Regions from separate parts of the Homo sapiens genome. Here region 2 is linked to region 1. Evidence: promoter capture Hi-C in 16 types of primary human blood cells and fetal thymus (Javierre and others, 2016). All regions are on one chromosome and are shown on one strand. The core of a region is centred on a gene start or on the middle of the fragment in contact, and the rest is flanking DNA. Distances in the headings are between cores, read along the strand shown. Region 1 holds the start of OSR1 (odd-skipped related transcription factor 1). Region 2 overlaps LOC124908045.

Region 1 (7,409 bases), core at 1,582-4,081:
GGAGGGCAGAACTGTTGGGTCCTAGCTACCGAGGACTTTTACCAAATTCGAAACGTGACGTCCTCGCGAGTCCTAAACACATGTAACCTCGCTTAAAAAGTACCCTTGTTGCTCTTAGGTGTCCTGCGTCCTTCCCTTGTCAATCCATCCAAGCGGTAGTCCGGGCACTGCGCAGCGACGCAGGGCCCGCTTAACGTGATCAATTTCTCTTAAACAGGCGGGGGATGGGATACCGCAGCACCGAACGGCCGGAGGGATTCTTAGCTTCCTGGGCTTCTTCCTGCCTGCCCCGCCCAGAAGGAACCCAGACTTTGGTTGGCCTCCTGTGGAGGTCAAGGCTAGGGTTTGGGGGTCACCCCCTTGGGAGCTCAGAGCGGGATGGAGGACTTTTCAGCTCCTAGCAATTCTTGAATTTCGTTATCCTGGCTTTCTGAGGCTGTGCATTGTCAGCGACCTAGGAGACGCCTCTCTGAAGCCAGGCTTCTGAAACAGGTGAGCCCTTGTGGAGAGCCATCGTCACTAGCACTCAGGTGCACTCTGGCCTTGTCCTGTTGTGGCCTTGCTGACCAGCTCCAGGCAGAGGTGGTCATGATTTCTCTGGGAGGCACAGCCTGGGGGACCAACACCAACCTTGCTTCCATCTACTCTACATCTGCTCTACAACCTGCTCTACATCTACTAAGTTCTAGAGACCTGAGTCAGGATCAGTTTTCAAGATAATCTGGCAAAGCAGTGGTGAAACAACTCGGTTGCATGTTTCTTCTTTAAGATCAGGAACACTTTCTCTCCGAGAGCTCTTTAGGGATCCTACTACTTAGGGCTTTCTGGAAGTTCTGAGGCATATTGGCCAAGGGCCCTGTTTTAGAAAAGAAAGACAAGGAGAAACATAAAAGAAGCCCAGCTGAGTTATGAGGGGTGCATAGCAGGAGTTTGGGTATTTACACCCCAGGAGGTTCCATCCCACCTGAATGACCAGCCACTATTCCTAAGTGATCTGGACAGCCAGAGGCCCTATCGTGTGGGCATTTTTTTTACTTCTTAACTTTTGCTGCTGGTAATGGAGGTTACCCAAGCTTTGCTTATTTGGAGAGCCTGAGGCTGGAACAAGCACACTCCCTGTGCCCAAGGTGGAAGCCAGCAAAGTTCAGCATTGCCCTGTGTAGACTTTCCCTCCAGGCCTTTCCTTGCCCTTGAAGCTTTCTGTTCTGGAATCTCTAGGAAGGAGGTGTGATCTCAGCTCTCTTCTCTTCCAAGGGTTCTTACTCTAGCAAGAATGTCACTACATCCTAGCAACTGCTAAGATTCCAGGAGCATGGACAAACTTATGTGAATCTCTTACTTCTGCACTAACCTGAGGCACTGGGTAAAAGCTGTTCGTTGGAGCAAAGATTGCACCCCCTCTTACTCCTCCTCAAACAAGACGAAGTTACCCAGGGGTTAGAGGCTAGATTCTGTTCTAAAGGCCTGGGGATATAAGGAAATCCTCTTTCAACTATGCCTTTGAGGGAGGGGAGTCTTCATTACCATCTCCCTAGGTCAGGTATTACAACCTTCTTCACCTCCCAAGAAAATCAGATTAGCTTTGCAAACCAAAGCTGGAGATAGCAGAAGCTCCTCGGGAGAGAAGCAGTACAGTACTTAGGGACCCACGGAATCTAGGATCCAGCTCCAAGAGTCACTCAGCAGCAACTCTGGGGCAAAGGCAGAGAGTGCAGTTGTGTGATCTGGACCCACACAAGTCCCAGGAAACCAGTGACTCCTCCTTGCCAAACCCAAGGCCTGGAAGGGTATTCCAGAAAGGCATTAGGGAGGGATTGGGCTGGGGTCAGCCGGAGGTCAGCTTTCAGAGATGGGTAGTCAAGGGGGTGATGGTACCCTCCATAATGCCTAGGCAATGAAGATAGAATTTTTAATGTCCAGAACTCTGATTCCTTTCCGATTAAAAACTCCACCTGAACCAGCTCCTTGACTCAGAGGCCCTGGAACTGACAACTTTGCAGCTCGTCTAGCTTGCCAGTGCGGCTCTCTAAACTCTGATCCATCCTAAAACAAATATGTAAGTAGAGAGTGCCACTGTGCATTGGGGTGAAATCTCAGAGAGTTCTGGGCCCCAGGAAAATAACTTTCCTGACCTCCTTTCCCTACTCTTTGTTCTTTCTACTGGACTCCAGAACTTAGGGTCTGGGGTCAACCATAAGCACTCAGATGTTACAGCTCGCTTGCTTCGGTGACCCTGGCCCTCCCGCACCAGGAATTAACCAGCGCTGCCTGGGTTAACACCCTGGCCCCGAGCACGCTTGGATAGCCAGGAGCTGCTCCACACTCGGGGTCTGCCGCCTCTGGAAAGAGATTCTGGGAGGAGATGCGACTCTGTCAGGCGCCAAAGTGCGTTGAAACCCAAGCCGCGGTGTGGGGATCCCGGTGCACAGAGCTACTGCCCCTCCCTCCCTCCTCCCAAAGAGCACGGGCTGTGTCCTAGGAGCCCAAGTATAGGACCTCGAAACGTGCGGTGCCAGCCCGCTCTCATCTGCTAGGGACCGTTTCCTCCAGTGCGCCAGGCGTGCCGCTCTGGACCTAAAAAGGCAGCAGGGGTCGCGCGGGACTGAAGAGGAGGGGACGCAGGTTGGGAGAGGCCGGGTCCAAGCGAGAGCAGCTGCCAAAGTCTGCTGCCCGGGTCAGCAAAAACTTTGTCTTTCATTGCGCAGGCGCAGGGCAGGGTTGGGGGGCAGGGGAGGGAGGGGAGGAATCCTGAGGCAAGGGGCGGGGGTGGGGGTGGTGGAGGAGGGAGGGTGGTGGATTAAAATAAGTAGGCGGCTCGGTGCTAAGGGATGAGTGAGTCGGAGCTCGGCCTCTCCCCGGCACGTTCTCAGCTGCTCCTGGTTCAGACCCAGCGAGGGAGCCGCGAGCGAGGCTCACCGTCCCCGGCGTGCAGGATCCGGGGCTGCTGAGCGCTCGCTCCCGCGTGTCCGGCGCTTGGAGTCCCCGCGGCAGGAGAGGAGTCGGGACACTAGAGCTCCAGGGGCGCCTGTGGGCTCCAGGGCCTCCGGCTTCCCCAGTCCCCTTCAGCTAAAGCCCCAGAGACGTGCTCAGCCCCAGGACCTCTGCGGAACAAGGTAATTGCAGTCCTGGGCGCCTGGGCTCAGCAAAGCGAATGCGGGCAGGACTCCCAGGTTCCTTGTCACTGCTCGGCGGGTGCCTCCTCTCTCTCAATGCCCCTGAAGGAAGCTCTTGCCAAACGAATGCTGTAGGACTTTTGTGAAAGTGAGAGCAGGGTGGTTGGGGGTGCTGCCTCAGGACTTCCTGCGCGGGGTCCTCGGCCTCTGACCGCTGGGGATTAAGGGGGGCGGGCCTCCGCTACTGCGGCCAGCCCGCCCGGCTCTGCGGAATCACGGGCGAGGTGCCCACGGACTTTGAAAGTCAATCTGTGGGCCCCCTTTAAGAAACCAGAGCAACTTCAGCGGGCACAAACTTTCCTGAGACGCGCTCCTAGCTCTGGCTGACGCCCAGGTTGACGAAGAAGGAAGGGAGAGGGAGTGAATGGCCACAGCCGCAGCCGACCGCGCCAGGGACAGGTGCATGCCCCAGCTCGGTAGCGCTTTCGTTCAAGTTTGTCTTTTGAGGAGTTGCGCTCTAGTATGAGGCCGCCTAGACCCGAGAGCGCAGGGCTGCGAGTCTGAACCCCGCCTTGCACTCGCGCTCTAACTTAGGGATATTCTCCATAGGATGATTGCTCTGTGTCGTCAAGGCCTGGAGCGGAACCCTTGATTGTCCTGGTGCAGGGAGGCAATGCAGTGGGCGCAAGCACTGCTTTCCAATTCGAGACCCACACACAGCACTAGTGGAAACTCTGTGGAGCCCTAGGGTCTCCGGGCTGGGGACAGGAAAAGTTCTGTTACTCCCCTGACTGTCCGCTAATCCAGCCGTCAGGAGAGAAAGAAGGGGGAAAGGGGTGAAGGGCTGCCTGCTGAACTAATTTCTCCTCGGAAATGTCTCGGAGAAGAATGAAAAACCACGTTTAGTCCTTTTTCAGCAGCTCAGGCAGTAGCGGGTTGGGTTCTCAATGTGTAAAGTAGCCGCAAGGGTTTCTTTGTTGCCACAATTTGGTAAATTTCACCCAGGCTAAGAGCTGCGCATTGGCTCTGCGGAACAAAACCACGTGCAAGGCTAGGTGTCCCAGGTTCACAACCCCCTAGGGAAGAGAAGCGCTGGAGGGGACTAGCAGCGACCGGCGGCGTGTAGATGTTCCATCCCAGGCTCCTCGAGGTAATTGCTGTTTTATTAAGATTGGGGAATGGATCACCGAGGACGCAGCGGACATTTAAGTGCAGCCGGATGACCGCCTTGCCAATGGGTTCGTTAGATCTCGTTTGTTGGGAGAATGCTATAGAAGTATCCGGTGCCGGTCAGTCCTCTTCACGGGGGTCCGGACGCCTGTCACCACTCGTTGGAGATTCGATGTCAAGGCTGATTTTCTTGGGTTGCTGCTGGGCTCCCCCAGGCGCAAACTCGTGGAGTTCGCTCCCGTTCTCATTAATGCAAGCAGTTAACTTGCTCACGCTCAATTAGCCCCGAATAAACCACTTTAATAGACTCTGCACACTTCATTAATGCCCAGCATAGGACTGGCCGCAGACCTGGGATTGGCGCTCCACCGCGCGAGGGACGCGAGTGCCCGCACTGCGCAGGGACTCGGGATCCCGAGCGCGAATTGCGTCTGCTGTGCGTGGTCGGGTCCCCTTATTCTTTCCCGCAGGTCCTGAGGCCCAAGCTGTTTGAGGAATGGGTGCCTAGCCTGGGGAAGGGTTTTCCATCCTGTGTTTAAAGATCGAAAGTATTCGCCCTGGGGTTCCGCGGTCTGGGAAACCGGAGCCGGAGGAGCCGGGGGCTCACTCATCCTTTCTGGCTGGAGAGGCTAGGGTGAGACTGTGTTTTTCTCTTAACCGACCTCCTGAAACCGGATCGTGCTTTCGGCCCATTCTTGATACTAGTGTAAAGAGCCACGTTTCGAATGAATTTCGTCCTGGGGAAAGTCGTTGGCGGGAGCCTGGGGAGCACTGGCTTCCGAATGCTTCAGAAAACAAGGAACGGGCTGGGCCGCGGAAGAAAATAAATGTAGTGTTGGGGAAAACAAGATCGGGCAGATAGCCCGGAAAGGTTGGCTCCCAGGAACCATTATAGCTGCAAGCACTCCCCCTTCCCGGCACCCCCTACGGAGCCCAAGACGGCTCCGGTCTTGGCTCTAAGGAAGAAGGCGAGGAAAGGCCTAGCGAGGTTGGTGGTTTCTCCCACCCAGGCACGGAGCGGGTTCGGGACAGTGTGCAGGCCAGAGTCCCACAGCCACGGCCGCTGGCTTGGCCTTGGATAGGCCAAGCACCCAGAGGAGCAGGGGGAGGCCTCCGCGGCGCCCAGCGGGGTCCGGGACCCGGAGATAAGGATCTGATTTCCAGCGCCTGGAAGGGAAGAAGAGGTGACAGCAATTCAAAGAGCGCTCATCCCTCCTAAGTCCAGGCCGACCTTTGAAGTTAGACAGGCTTCTCCTCCTTCCCCTTCCCCAACCCAAATGGGTCTCAGCTTCCTCTCTGGCCCAATTTGAAATTTACTTCTCCTTGTGTCCGAGCTCTGGGATAGTCTCAATTTGTCCCGGGCACGACCCGAGCTTGGCGCAGTAGAGATGACCGTTGCTGAAGCCACGGCGCTGCCAGCGGCACCAGCGCTCTGCTTCAGAGGCCAGATCACGCAGATAATATGCCTCCTCTTGCCCTGAGGCTAAATTCATTGCAACGGTTTTTATCCGAGTGCTAATTTAAACTGCGCAGGCAAATCACGGCCAGCTCGTGGTGTTTTTACACCCCATTCCCAGGAAGGCCTCTTTCCTTAGGTCCCACCACACAGCCAGTGGCCCCCGTGCCAGCTTCCAGGAGAAAAGGTTTTCCTGGGTCAACATTGCCCTCATACCTCCTGGGAAAAGGCACTGCACATCCCTGGACAGAGCCAGGCTTTGAAAGCCTCGCTGCAGCGAAAGGCAGAGGAGTCTATGCCTGGGCCTTGCCCTGGGCTGAGGGTCAGCTCAACCTGGGGAGGGGGCACGCCAAACTAGGGAGCAGAGCAGAGGCCAGTGCATCCCAGGGAAGGGGAATTGCTCCATGTTAGAGGAAAGGACCTAGGAAGAGGAGAGTAATGAAGGGTAAAGGAAGAAGTCAACAGCAGGGGATTGAAGCTAGGCAAGAGAGAAGGGAGTCCCACGGACCCTGCTGTGACAATGACTTCTTAAGTAGCCCCAAGCTAAGAGCCAGGAGTTCAGTGCTTGGGCTTCCCAAGGCTCCCTGACAGTTTAGACTTTGCTCACCCTGTTCTTTCCTCCACTGGACACATCTAAATTAGGAGTGTCTGGGAGGTAGAGATGAAAAGCATTTTGCAGAGCTCAGATGTCTCCACGGAGGCTGGAGACCATGGCCAAGGAGGTCTGGAGATGCCAACCCCTGGTCACTTCAGTGTGGCTTTCCTCTGGCCTTGCTCAAGCTCTCCAACCTTGCACTTGGAGGTACATAGACCACAGGAATGGAGGCCTGGCCTCAGTGTTCTTGCCCATAGGCATACCCACCTGCCCAGGGCTCACAACACACAAGAACATGCTGACAACCCAAAGACTCAGCTCCCTTTTTCTTTGGGGGAGTGAGGGCACTAACACCCCCTTGTTTGTGACTGCAGTTGTTTGACAGAGTAAATGAATGTGGATATTAGCAACCTCCTTGAAAGCAAAGTGGTCCCCGAGGGCTAAGGCAAGGCAGAGAGTCAGTCCACAAGCAGCTGCAGAGAGAGTGGAGCCAACAGGTTTCACTTACACTAAGGCAGGGAAGCAGATTTAAGGTCAAAGTTGAGGGTTTTGAGGAGAAAGATGACAGGGCTTCTGGAAGCCAAATCGAAGGTCAGCCAGAAGACCTTAATGAATGGGAGCCAGGAGGTGCATGCATTTGTGCGCCTGTGTATGTGTGTTGTCTGTGAGGCTCTTCATGGGTGCAATGTGATCCCGTGTGTGTGTGTGTGTGTGTGTGTGTGTGTGTGTGAGATTCAGGGGTTCCTGCATTTTTTTAAAGCCAGTGTTGTACTATAAAACATTGGTTGTCCCAGTCTTTGCACCTTGTCAATTCTGCCTCAGAATGTCTGAATCCACGTGTGCAATTCTGTGTTTATCTGCAAATAAATGTGTAAGTATGTTCCCCAGCTCCTGTTATCTTTGCAGGAGATTGTGATTCTGTGTTGACCCGGGCTTACCTGGATGTCAATTTCTACAGGACAGGCAGTTTCCCTTTGCTTGTTCCTTTCTCAGTGTCTTGCATACAGTAGGCCCTTCCCTCTATCAAGTTGTGTGGCTCTGCCAGACGCCATTTGGAGGGAGCCCTTAGACCAAG
Region 2 (7,477 bases), core at 4,623-7,122, about 86 Mb before region 1:
AGGATCTCTGAAGGATGCTCTGGCACACAGATGGTGCAGGTATGACTTTACCTGCACACAAGCTTACATGTGCCCTGTCATATATGGCTACACGTTTCCCCATTTCCCCACAGTCTTCCTATTTAACTGGTCTTCAATCCTCCTTTCTAGGGCTTTCCGCCTGCACACAGTCATTTGGAGAAAATCAAGTGAGTGCACTTCTCCCCACAGAGGATTCTGTATGTTATGTAACACACTCACACTGGGATTCCTCAAGTTACCATTTTGCCCCAACTCAGCCAGCACTTGGTTTTCTGGCGGGGGTGTCAGGATGATGCAAATGGAGGTGGAAGCTTCATTCCCTGGGGGCTTTTATTCCCCTCCTTGAAGCCCCAGTTCAAGGCCCAGGAACAAAGGGGAAAGGTAACTGATCTCTCTTTTGGTCTTTCTCTCCCCTCACTTCCACCCCTTCACCTGCAGGCCCTCCTCTTTGATAAATAGAGGAAAGCCCGTGGGATCAGGTACATATGTAAATACTGCTGACCTCGGCCGCCCCTCCTCACCGAAAAGCAGAAAGCCCGTTTCAGGTGCAGGCTGCTCCGTGCCTTTGAGTGTCCACCACTTCTATTCCCCCAGACTGCTTGGGACTCAAGGCCACTCACTTAATACCCGTCTCTTGTTAAAAACATTCAGGACAACTATTAAATAGTTATTGGAAGAGTTAAAGACCTTCTTTCAGGAGTGAAACGTTTTTAAAGCTGTGCTTGGCATAAGTCTTTAAGGCGTACAAAGTAGAATCAGTAGACTTGCCTGAGCGATTTTGAAATTTGAAAGATTTCTCCCCATGAAATGGTAATTTAAAATAGTTTGTAGATGTTGTTTTGTTCTGTGATGGCTTTTTCACCATTGTCACCTAAAGATTCTCAAGACCAAGCTACTAAGACATTTCATTTGGTTAGTTTCTGGGTGATACTGTGCTTTCTGATTAGACCTATTTAATTTATTTTTAACTCTGCAGGAGAGTTTTCAACCTTGGAAATGTAAGTGAAACACAGACTCACCCTCCTTCTGAGACCTTGATAGGGGCAGAAAGGAACAAATCTGGCTAGCCCCCCTCACACCTGGAAGTTTCCCTGTCTAAACCTGGGTACAATGAGCGTGGTGGGTTTTGTCACCTTTTATTTTATTGCTGGCTCAAGGAAAATTCTTTGAAATGAACATCTATTCTATTTCAGTGTGCAATGTTCCAGCCGACTTAATGGGCTTGCCTTATGCGGAGAGGCAGTCCTGCAGGACAGAGCTAATGTGTGGTCTCCCAGGAAGCTCATCAGAACACCTCTTGTCCCTTTTCTTTAAAAGAAAAAAAATTTAAAAAGTTTTTGCTTCCATCTCAATGTCCATTCCATTATTTTGTAGCTACAATAAAGAAACATGGGCAGCAGTGATCATTCTTTTTGTCCTATGTAATCATGTCTAGTGTTAGGACCTTACAAAGCTCCAGACATACCTCAGGTGTATTCTGCACTTTTCATATTTATTCACTGCTCACTGGGTCACACAGATGATTCACACTTGATTCCACCTTCCTCTGGACAACTCTCCCTCAAACAACACCCCTCTATCAACTTATAGGGAAAGGAGATTCACTTAGAGAAAACTTCTTGAATTAAAGACCAGACTCAGTTTCGCCAGGTAACTAATCCTGGCATACCGGTGACTAGGAAGTCATCACCTAACACTCTACCTAGATATAAACTCTCAGGAAGGAGGCAGGCCGGTGGGGACATTTCCACAGACATTTCTAAAACTGTGGCAATTGAGTATATTTTACAGATACAATTTTGGTAGATTCCCATCCAGCTTAAGACATTTAAAATGCAATTTTGTTCACACGCATGTGCGCGCACACAGACACACACGCACGTGTCAACTAGGGTGATATTAACAGTCCATTTCCACTGGGCAATTCTGTGACAGCAACTACAACTAACAAACTTCTTTTCTGAAGAGTAAAAAAGAAAACAAAAGCCTCTCCATCTATTTTAAAAGGTTATTTTATATTGTTTAGCATTCTTTCGAAACAGGAATTGGCTGGACACTTCTCCCTTTTCAAAGATCAGGTAAACTACTCTCCCACCCACCTCCTCCCCAAGACCAAGCCATTTTTTAAAGCAAAAATTCTGTTTCCAAAGGAAGAAAAATGAACAAATTCCATTAATGAATTACATACATGGAATGTGGCTTGTCTAGGACATTTGTATTTGTAAATAAATGGCTCCCTGTTTATTATGTATGTTTTACTGGAAAAAAAACCAACTCTAATGCCTCTGAGCATGTTATAATACAGCAAATATTTCCACTTATGGTTTCAGTTCCACTGTTTCTTGGTACTCACTAGAAAGAAATCGGGTTACATGGAGTCAGTTGTGGGGTTTAAGCGTCCAGGCTGACTTGGGGACGCGGCACCTCTAAAGTTCTCATGTTTGCCAAAGTGCGGGGGGAAGGGGGAATGGCTCCTAGGAATCTTATGGGGATTAATCTGGGGTTTCGCCTTTGTCCCGGGATCTTTCTAAGGCTCACCACGGCCTCCGTCTGCAGCTTCAGAAGCGAAGCCGGCGTGCGATCTCCTTGGCGGGCGGACTGGGCACAGTCCCTGCCTTGCCCTGCTGCCGGCGCCCGCACACCGCGGTCTCAGGATCTCCCCGCAGGCCTAGGCCTGCAGTCCTCGGGCGGAGACGGGGCCTGGGGGAGCGACCCTCACCGGGCCAGGCACAGGCAGTTTACCCTGGTGCCTGTAGGGTGCTCGAGTTTCCCACACGCGGGAAGCGGAGGCGTGGGCCAAGCGCCGGGGGCTGCCCAAGAACTCCACCGCCCCGTGCGGCGCGCAGGGCCTGGCGGCGCGAAACTTCCACAAAGCCGCCGGCCGCCTCCGGCCTTGCCTCCACTCCGCAGTCCCAGCTGCCTAGACCTCGGTGTCTTCCCAGACAATGAGCCCTGCCAGTGCACTAGGCTGTTCCGCTCTGACTTCTTCTGCCCGCACATGGGGACCCGAGCGAAAGGTTATGGGTTGGAACAAGTCAGCGCATCTCCTTCCACGCGCCGCATCCTTCGGGAAGACAAACAGAGTACGCCCCCCACCTCAATTTCGGGCCCTGGTCTGTGGGCTGGGCCACAGTCCGGGAAGACCCAAGGGGTCACGGGTCCAGATCCGTCTTTACTTTGTCCTCCGCTCCAGGGCTCCAGGGCCCTGGGCAGCAGAGAGGTGGATTTCAGAGAAAGCCCGGGTCAGCCAGGCCTTGAACTCAGCCCCTCTGAACTCCACCGTCAGCAGCGTGGGCGGCAACTCAATTCTCCTGGGAGGAGGCTGCACCCCCAGAACGGAAAATCCGCAAACGTCGCGCAGAGACCCACAGGCATTTCTACCTTTCCTTCCACAAGCCCTGCAGAAAGTTATCGCCAGAACCTCTGGAACCTGAGCCGACTCCAGCCTCCAGCAACTCCCTCAACCTTCCAGGGAAACTTTCAGAAGTTTCCCTTTCCTTCGCTCCTCAATTCCTTGGACTTTCTCCAGCCCCCAGGTTTGCTCATTACTCTGCTGACTGCCCTTTAGTCTCTAGGGCTCCACAGGCCTGAGCGTTTCCAGAATAATAATAATAATAATAATAATAATAATAATAATAATAATAATAATTGTTATTATGAGGCTGGGGAAGAACAGGATCAGAGGGTAGGAGGGACTGAGGGAGAGAGTGGACATGTTTATGAAAAGGTTTATTTAAACCTGTGTTTCAAAAGGGTTCAGTTGACAATTATCAGTAACCCCGATAGACAACTCCATTAAAAAAAAAAAGAATTTACTATTGCTCTTGAAAGCCGTTATTTTTTCCATCGCTTTTTAGGAAGATAGATGAACAAAACATCGCGTTTCAAGCCATTTTGATCTGTAATTGAAAGGCAGGATCGGTTTGTATTCTCCTACGGCTTTTACAGAAGTTGCAGTGATCCAAAGTCGGGTTGCTGTGTCAGAGTGGCATTTTTATTAATGAGAATACAAAAAGCTTGCATATTCTTAGCCCTGCTTGAATTTAGTTGCTAAGCAACGGGTGTATGGTAATTCATCCGCGAAATTTAAATCTTTGAGAAAGGTTCGTGCGTTTTGCTGAATGGTCGCCACGAGGAAAACAACTTGTGGGACCCACAGCAGCTGCCACAGTCTGGCCGCCCGGCCGTGCCGGGCCGAGCAGGGACCCGGCCGCCCCACCGCGACCGCCACCGCCCCACCTCCGCGCCCAGCCCTGCCCTCCCTCCCGGAGAGAAGCGAGCTTTGGACGCCCGGCTGCCTCGGGTCCCCCTCCCCCTCCGCCTCTTCTGATCCGGGGTTTTCACCGGAGGCAGGCCTTACACCTGACCCCGTCGCCTGTACCCCTAGGGCTTCGGGGTCCAGACTGCGAATTTCCGCTTCCCCCTCCCCTCACGCGCACCCACATGCACACGGCACGCGCGCGCACACACTAGCGCACACATCGTGCCGCCAAGAGAATGACTGTTGCCCTCTTCCCAGACCCCTCTGAGGTCACTTCCAGAGCCAACTCTTCCTTGAGGAAGACCGGACTCATCAAGAACGCAGCGCACAGCCCGCCAGAAGGCCAGGCGGCCGCCTCTGGCCGGCAGTGACATCATAGGCTCCTGCTCGCCAAGCTCGCGCCCGCATTTTAGGATACAGGAACAAACACGGATGTGAAATCAAGAATGAAAGAGAGAGTAATCTAATTAATAGGCCATGAGCCAGGCTAACAAAATCAAAGAATCTGATTACACAAGTACCCCTCCTGCTATCTCCGCTGCCCCCACCCCCAGCTCCTCCAGCCTGCGCACTATTTCCTTTCCTAGGCTGCAAAGTTCAGGATGCAAACGCAGAGGCTTCTGCTTTCCTTATTGAAATCAACGTCAAGCCTACCGTGAGGATCCTGCACCCAGGAGGTCACATGGGTGAACTTCAGGCCCTCAGACCAGCAGCCCTGAGGAGCTGAGATGACCAACCGACCTACAGAACTTGGAGAGCCTGAGAGGTTGCCCCACGCTTCTCACATGCGTCACTCAACAACAACAACAGCAGCAGCAGCAACAACAACGACAACAACACCTGTGCTGATTGCTTATGCTGTTAGTAGCTGGACTAGGACAAAGGGCTTCTCCACTCACAGTCATTTTATAGATCATCTAATTTTTTTTCTTCAGTCTAGCACAACTCTTCTTTTTTCACATCACCTTGTTTCTGGGTCACTGATAACCTCAAACTCCCAACTCTTATTACAACTCCCTTTCCCAACGTAGATGTCTGAGCACAGTCAGGTATTAGGTTATCACTGAAACATAGCATCTGCTCTAATCCTTGCAGCCAGCCACGTGCATTTCATGAAAGAAGAAAATTCTTTAATTTCTGTCTTTCTGCCTTAAAAAAACAATCAGGTCCACCTTTTAAATAATTAATTTCAAGTCTGCATCCAGTGCCAATACTTGTTGCATCCATTTTAGAGTTGATTAATTACCCTGGAACTTGGGCAAACTAAACTCCATGTGGAGAGAATGTTTCTTCCTTCAATTTAGTACTGAAAGCTACAAGTTATTAATGGATTTTACTCAATTTACATACAAATTAGTGCAAATATGCCCGTCTCTTAAAGTACATTTTTGTATAAATATATAAAAGTATCATTTTTGATTTAGCTTGAAGAGGTTGATCATTTATTACAAAAATAAACGAATAAATACAACAATATATTGTTGCTTTCAACAGGATAAATACTTTACAAATATATAATTTAAAAAACAAATTTAATTGTTAAAATTATTTAAAATATTACACTTATCGATAAAACTATCAATAGTATATACTGCATTTAATATTAGAACCAATTATTCTCTGAATGTTCAAAACCATTCATACAAAACAGATTATGAGCATGGTCATGAGCAAACACTGGAGGCTACAGGGCAGCAAAGGGAATCGCTAAGATCAATAACGAACAGTTCTCTTCGGAACAAAGAAGTAGTCCTTGGCTAAGTACTAAAAAAAAAAAAAAAAAAAAAAAAAAAAAGGCAGAGCAACAATAGCAAAGTGACTATTTTCAATACACCTTGAATGATTTATCGCACAGACTTGCCAGGGGAAGATGGTTGTGGGAGCGACGGAGGCTTGGACAACTGATCAAGAGCCACAGGAGACTGTAAACTGTAAGTGGGCCTAGCTTGGGATTAGCAAGGCTGATGGAACAGAACTTTGTCACTTTCCTTTGGGTTGGAAGGGGAGGGGGGGTTGGATTGAAATGGAGGAAACAAATGGGCACTTTACGAAGCACAAGACACTTGCACTGCAAAGGAACACAATGACCAAATTCATTAAAAAGATCTGGTGATATATAACAATATTTTCATTATTTACATGTGTAACAATATAAGCCTTAGCACAAAACCTCTCAGTTATATCTGCCCTCTTTTGTTTTTCAACCATGAATTTCATTTTGTAATTACATTGAAAGGGTTGATTAAAAAAAATGGAGTGCAAGCATTAGCTCACTTTATAAAATGCAAATAATGAAACAAAATGGGTTTGCTTTCCCAGCTTCTCCAATTAAAAGTTACTCTGCTACCCCCAAATCAGGGATTCTTCCAAAGTAATCAGCAAAGTTTGCTTTTTAATAGAAAACAGTGTGAAATCTAATGTTAGCTCTTTTGTTGTCAGCTAAATCAACTAAGTAGATACCTCCTGAAATTTTTTTAATAGACCTATTACTTGTCTAATCAACCACCACCATTCCCATAGGAAAAACAAGATTCCATCTCACGTGCCAGTAGTATCCACCACATAAAAACAACCTGACCAGTCCTCAGCTTTCCAATGAGGACTTCTTTGCTTGCCTCTCTAGACACCCCCAAAATGGTGAACTTCTCCCCCACCCCCACTCCAGGTTGTAAATTTGCTGGGCATAGGGATTACAGCAGCAAGAGAAATAGGGAACAAGAAGGCAAAGAAAAGTAAATTGTGGTTTCTTGTCTTCATTTTTTTCTTCTCTCTGTTTAATATATGTGGCCTTTTTCAGATTTCACAAATCAAAATGATTGTGATTTTTAGTACGATTTGGTGTTTAAAATAATGCAACCCAATACATGGCCATCTGGCTGGGTTTGATTTATGAAAGTGACACAGGGCCTGTCTGGGAGAAATAACTGTGCCTTGTTGCTCTCACAGTTTTCCGGGTTTTTTAACCCCTGCATTGATATCACAGGGAGAGGGAGTGAAGATGAGAGAAGGAGGAAAAAAAGTGAGTGACAGCTAAGTGAGATTGGGGGGAATTTGTCTATAAAATCGTTGCTCTACCACTGCTAAATACTTTTAAGTACAATATATAGGGACTCAACTAAGCCGAGCCTTTAGCGTCTTAAGTACTCACAACCTGAGGCATTACACTTTCATTTTCCCACATTGTAAATATTGAAA

Evidence for each region. Contacts are between HindIII fragments. The CHiCAGO score rates a contact against its expected background, and 5 or more counts as called.
Region 2: a contact is called between a fragment that was not itself captured here and the fragment with the promoter of OSR1 in region 1, in 1 of 17 cell types (total B cells). The highest score is 16.1, in total B cells.

The regions. Positions count from the first base shown.
Region 1 is chr2:19,354,045-19,361,453 of GRCh38, reverse strand. It overlaps OSR1 (odd-skipped related transcription factor 1), which reads left to right and starts at 2,831. Exons shown (of 3, transcript NM_145260.3): 1 at 2,831-3,113. RefSeq lists enhancers at 2,959-3,487, 4,153-5,117, 5,118-6,083. The HindIII fragment of the contact is 8,359 bases long and covers 1,199-7,409 here.
Region 2 is chr2:104,859,353-104,866,829 of GRCh38, reverse strand. LOC124908045 reads left to right here. Exons shown (of 2, transcript XM_047446880.1): 1 at 1-402; 2 at 1,215-3,589. The coding sequence starts at 2,459. The coding sequence ends at 3,589. LINC01159 (long intergenic non-protein coding RNA 1159) reads left to right here. Exons shown (of 2, transcript NR_110373.1): 2 at 1-1,333. It also overlaps a transcript of POU3F3 not described here. Among named protein-coding and RNA genes, the nearest start is that of POU3F3, 9.0 kb to the right of the region's middle. The HindIII fragment of the contact is 3,665 bases long and covers 4,040-7,477 here.